Regions from separate parts of the Homo sapiens genome. Here region 2 is linked to region 1. Evidence: promoter capture Hi-C in 16 types of primary human blood cells and fetal thymus (Javierre and others, 2016). All regions are on one chromosome and are shown on one strand. Each heading gives the region's core, a stretch centred on a gene start or on the middle of the fragment in contact. The rest is flanking DNA. Distances are from core to core; before and after follow the strand shown.

Region 1 (2,897 bases), core at 211-2,710:
CATGACTTCAGAGTTTTACCCACGGGCTCTGCTTCATCAGCTGTCTCCAGAGGAGTGAGTGCGCTTCTGCAGAAGCCTCTGGAATGTCAGCTTCCTGGAACCTCGAGGATACGGGTGGGGAAGGAGCTGCTTACTGGGACACACTGGATTACCCTACCCCCTTGGTGTGTCTGCCGCCTCTGTGGATGTAAGCGGCAGGTGGCATCGGAAAGTCAGACCTGCCTGGGACACCAGAGAAAGACCCTAAGAGTCGGGGGAGAGGGAAAGGCTGCAGAAACATGAGAAAGTGCCACTCGTAGCGGAGAGGAAAGAAAACCTCAAGGATACGGTTCCCGAGCCTGAGCCCGCTCCCAGCCTTAGCCCCCCAACCCCAGGCTCCGTCCCAGGAGCAGTCGACGCCTCAAAGCGTACGGGACAGGAAGGGGGTGGGGGCGAGAGTCTTGGTTCCCCAGAACGAACGGATCCATAGCGGTTCCCGGTGCCGCAGGCCGCGCGCTTCTCCGACCCCAGCGCGGGGCCCTCGGGCGGGAATGAGCCGAGCCGGGACTTAGCGGCGGGTAGGGGGTTGGGTGGCGCGGGAGAGGGCGGCAGAAGGAGGGAGTTCGAAGAGAGTTGCCGCCAGGGAGAGTGGCAAGTGCCCGCGGTCTCCTTGGAGACGTGCTGGCCAATGGCAGAGGCGGAAGCTGTTTATGGGGGCGGAGCGTCGCCATGGCAGCAGGAGAAGCCTTTGGAGCGGCTACTTAATGCCGGTCCCGGGGCCGCGGTAGCTCAGAGAAGCGCCGTCGGGCGGGGGGGCGGCAAGAGGCGCTGGCAGGGCCCCCGAGCTGGGGGCAGAGAGCCGCAGGGGGTGGGAGCAACTTCTTCCAGAACCTTCCTCTGGCCCGGGCTGCGCTCTGAGCCAGGTAAGGGATGGGGAGGGCTGCAGGCCAGGGGGAAGGGTGGGCAACGGTACCAACCCGCTCTCTCATTCGTCCTTAACGGAAGTGGTGGGCCCAGGGACTGACATCGGAGAAGTCTGGGGGAAACTCGCCTCCTGCCCCCCGTTACTGTTCCGTCCCCTTCCTTCCCAATGATCCCCTATCATAATATTCCTTTTCAAGGATCAGAGGACCTCCACCGCCCCCGCCCCGTCGTACCGCCCTCCCAAACTTCTCGCCCCACTTCCATTTGTTGCGAGGAGGAAGGGGGTCCTGATTTCCTGCTCTTCGGGAGAAAAGGATAGCCTCGGATGCCCCTACCCTCTTCATTTGGCTAATAAAACCTCGAAGAGGAAAGGAAGAGGGAGGCAGATCTGATGGGGGTGGGACCCCAGGGCCTTGCTTCTGTTTCCCATACCTCGGCACTAAAAGATCCTCCCCAGCTGCGGGGATGATGTTAGAGAGGGCGTCCCCGTACACACACTGTCCCCTCGGGGGTGGGGTAGTGCTCAGCTCCCACCGTGGTCCTCGCAGGCACCACATACTTATTCGGAGGAGGCGCCCCCGGGGTCGCGAGATGGAAGCGCGCGTCCGGGAGGCCGTGTAACGGGAGCTGCGGGACTCAGCGGGCCAGAGAGCGCGGCGGGCCACCCCCGGCTCAGCCCGTGGATGCTGACCGCCCCCTCGGAGAGTCCCCGCAGACATGGCGGAGAGCTGGCTGCGCCTCTCGGGAGCCGGGCCGGCGGAGGAGGCCGGGCCGGAGGGCGGCCTGGAGGAGCCCGACGCCCTGGATGACAGCCTGACCAGCCTGCAGTGGCTGCAGGAATTCTCCATTCTCAACGCCAAGGCCCCCGCCCTGCCCCCGGGGGGCACCGACCCCCACGGCTACCACCAGGTGCCAGGTTCAGCGGCGCCCGGGTCCCCCCTGGCGGCCGACCCCGCCTGCCTGGGGCAGCCACACACGCCGGGCAAGCCCACGTCGTCGTGCACGTCGCGGAGCGCGCCCCCGGGGCTGCAGGCCCCACCCCCCGACGACGTGGACTACGCCACCAATCCGCACGTGAAGCCTCCCTACTCGTATGCCACGCTCATCTGCATGGCCATGCAGGCCAGCAAGGCCACCAAGATCACCCTGTCGGCCATCTACAAGTGGATCACGGACAACTTCTGCTACTTCCGCCACGCAGATCCCACCTGGCAGGTAGAGGAGGCACGGGCGGCGGCCGCTCCCTCCCCATTCCCTCCTCGCTCCCCACGCTGCACTGGATTCATATCCCAAATCTGCAGGCCAAGTAGGCTCTGCGGTGCGGCCAGCGCCCCAGAAGGGAGCCCTGCAAAGGAGCCCAGTTCTTGCAACTGCCCCTCCTTTGACTTCCAGAGAGAGAGAGAGAGAGAAGGGAGAATGTCCAGAGGTGGAGGGCTTTAGGGGTGCAGAGGCTGAGATTCAAGGGGAAATAACCTGCCATTCATCCAGCAGGCCCAGGCCAAAGACCAGGGCTAGACTCTGCGTGGACAGAATCTCCTTGGGGAGAGCGATGAACTGAAGGCGCATTCTTGTCCCAAGTCCTAGAATTCCTAGACACTGCCCTGCCCCGGGATGGTTTGTCGGGGCCGGGAGTCAGAAACGGAAACTGGAACGTGGCCTCCCTGCCAGGCTCTACGTCCTGCCCTTTTGCAGTTGGCTTGGGGAGGGTGGAATGGAAGGGGTGCCTTAGCATGTGAGGGCCAGGTGTGTCCCAATGGAGGGTGGAGGGGGTAAGGGGCCTTCCTAAAGCTGCTGTCCCAGCCCCCCACCTCAACCTCTGCTCAGTTTCCTGCCTCCAACCCCCGCTGTCAGCCAACCTCCCTGGGGGGACAATTACCTGAGCCAGGTGCCTTCCACTGGGGCTCTGCCTACCACACTCACTTCGTGTTCCACGTCTCTGGAACCAGGCACTGAGCAGCCAAGGGGCCCAGGCCACCATGTAAACATCCCAGCCT
Region 2 (2,700 bases), core at 1-2,500, 300 kb before region 1:
GATAGCACTTCACCCCTAAATACCTAAGCTTGAATCTTCTCAAAATTAGAGCATTTGGGGTCATTTTTAATTTACCTTCTTTGGCCCTCATTCTAACTTGTCATCAGTTCTTTGAGAGGCCTCTTGCATCCTGTGCCTGCATTTCCCTTTCACAACCCTGGTTTGCTCTCTGCTTGCCTCATGCCTGCACTGTGTAGCCTTCTCCCTGGTCTCCCTGCCTCTAGTCCTCCTTCAACCAGTGAACAGCGCTGCCGCCAACTGACCTCCAAAGGGCTGACCTCCCAAGTGATCGCCTGGATTGTGTCAGGACCCAGCCTCTGATCATGCCTTGGTTGTCATTCAGGGCCCCTCACCTACACATCCTGCTCTATCTCCTGCCTCTTCAGTTGATTCCAGCCAATCTGACTGCTTTTCCCCAACTCAATTGTGCCGTTCCCTTCCTCTCATGCCCCATGGCACACCCACATTCTCTCCTGGATGGGAAGCTCCTTGAGAAACAGAGACAGCAAATCCTAAAGCTTGTGTGCTATCACGCACATGCAGACTCTTGGGAAACATCTTCATGAATGACCAGTTTGCTCCCTCCCACTTACTACAAATAGTATTCTTAGTCTTCTTCCAGATGCCCTGTGGTCTGTGCTGGAGCTGTATGGGCCCCTTACTAGACCACTCTGTCTCCCACCCCCCGTACTAGGTGTGTTGACCATGTACAGTAATTTATTGCCCAAGTTGGGTTCTTTTGAGAGTACTATGAATAATTACTCCAGGACTGGGACGTATGGGCATCCTAATACTAGGAAGAGCAGATTAATCAGAATACACCATATTGTAGTTACTACTTTGGCAACTTCCGTCGCGGGCTCCCCAGGCAGACTACGTGCATTGTGGACTAGGCTAGAGCTAGCTAGAGCTGGTGTCACCTGTGGTCGAAATGAAGCTGCTTCTGGCTGCATTTCCCCTGTAAGAACCCCGCCTAAAGCACTTGACAAATGGCAGATTCCACACACGTGGGTTTCCTGAATGGTTATCAGCACCCAGTCCTCACCTTAGGAGGATGGCTAAGTACGAACGAGGCTCTCTATTGGAAAAAGAATGCCCCACCCGACTGCAAATGAATCAGGAACGCAGCTTAGGCTATGCACTCTGCCTGCACCAAGACCCTTGGGGGCGGGGCCTGGAGTTGCAGTGGCTATGCCAGGCCTATTACTTTGAAGGAGTCAGGAACCATCTATTGAAAGTAGATATAACCACCCCTGTTTATCAGTGGAGGGGGAGGGGGAAGTGAAGAGAGCATGAATAAATGGATTCTAATCCAGCACTTTTCCAAGGTGAATGCCACATGCCATCACCTAGGGTCTCCTAATGCAAATTGTCCTAATTCCATTGGGCTGAAGAATCTGCGTGTCTAACAAACTCCCAGTGACATTGATGCTGCTGGCTGGGACTGTCTTTTGAATTGCACTTATATGGGCCCTTCCAAACCTCGTTGATGTCAATGGGTTCAGTTTTAGTACGTCTTTGGTTCGAGGCTTTTTCTCTCCCCTCTGCTTATTCTTCTAGTGCCAGTGTTAATGAACCGGGAATTGTCCAAAGGTGGGCTGCAGGAGGGGCAGGAAAGGGATGAGGCGGACTCATCATCCGCCAGTGCTTTAGTGTTAGAAAGGCTTGCCTCTTTCTTCCTCCCCATTGCTTGCTGGTGGTTATTATTAATGCACTGCTGTTGCTAAGAAGTTTCATTTGATTTCATTTCATTTTAGGATGTAAATATGGTAGTTGTTTTGAGTATAACACACCCAATCCAAGAGGAGAATGATTATTCAGCATTTTAATGAAATTGCTGTCTTTTATCCAGCCAGTGTCAATGGATTCCTGCTGTGAGCCAGGCATGTTAACTCACACTTTACCTGTGTCATCTCACTTCCCTTAAAGTGGCCAGTGCCCCATTTTAGAAAAGGAAAGACTGAAACCCAGAGAAAGCTTATAACTCACCAAGGCCACATAGCAAGTGGGAGGCCAACCCAAATTCAAACTTAGGCCAGTTTGTGCTGCCCGAATGCAGGTTCTCTTCACTGACTACACGGGTGCCCCCTGCACTGTGCTGGGTGCTGTGGGGAGAGAGATACCCCCACACAGGCCCTGCCCTCTAGATAAGGGGCCAGCCAAACTTTCTGTAAAGGGCCAGATGATAAATGTCCTAGTGTTGCAGGCTATACTGTCTCCTTCACAACAACTCAGCTTTGCCATTATAGCACAAAAGCATTCAGAGGCAGTAAGCAAATGAATGGGCATGGTCATGTTCCAATAAAATTTTAAGAAACAGGCAGTAGGCTGGACATGACCTGCAGGCTGTAGTTTTCCCACCTCTGCTCTGGAAGGATCCTGAAAAATAGAGATACAATGTGAGCCACAGCTGAAAAAAGTAAATAGAGGCCAGGCATGGTGGCTCATGGCTATAATCCCAACACTTTGGGAGGCCAAGCCAGGCGGATCACTTGAGGCCAGGAGTTCGAGACCAGCCTGGGCAACATGATGAAACCCCATCTCTTCAAAAAGTACAGAAATCATCTTAGCGTGGCAGCTTACGCCTGTAGTCCCAACTACTCAGTAGGCTGAGGTGAGAGGATCGCTTGAGTCCTGGCGGTCGAGGTGGCAATGGGCCGTGATCGTGCGACCCATTGCCCTTAAGCCTAGGCAACAGAG

What was found. Contacts are between HindIII fragments. The CHiCAGO score rates a contact against its expected background, and 5 or more counts as called.
Region 2: a fragment that was not itself captured here is called in contact with the fragment with the promoter of RNF157-AS1 in region 1 in 1 of 17 cell types (M1 macrophages); the score reaches 5.4 in M1 macrophages.

What each region holds. Positions count from the first base shown.
Region 1 is chr17:76,139,119-76,142,015 of GRCh38, reverse strand. RNF157-AS1 (RNF157 antisense RNA 1) reads right to left here and starts at 1,460. Exons shown (of 8, transcript NR_040017.1): 1 at 1,336-1,460. It overlaps FOXJ1 (forkhead box J1), which reads left to right and starts at 771. Exons shown (of 3, transcript NM_001454.4): 1 at 771-902; 2 at 1,452-2,118. The coding sequence starts at 1,621. RefSeq lists silencers at 776-935, 1,614-1,683, 1,744-1,933 and an enhancer at 2,345-2,897. The HindIII fragment of the contact is 14,991 bases long and covers 1-2,897 here.
Region 2 is chr17:76,440,356-76,443,055 of GRCh38, reverse strand. All of the region lies in intron 1 of UBE2O (ubiquitin conjugating enzyme E2 O), which reads left to right. Among named protein-coding and RNA genes, the nearest start is that of UBE2O, 11 kb to the left of the region's middle. RefSeq lists enhancers at 1-63, 1,488-2,005. The HindIII fragment of the contact is 1,459 bases long and covers 521-1,979 here.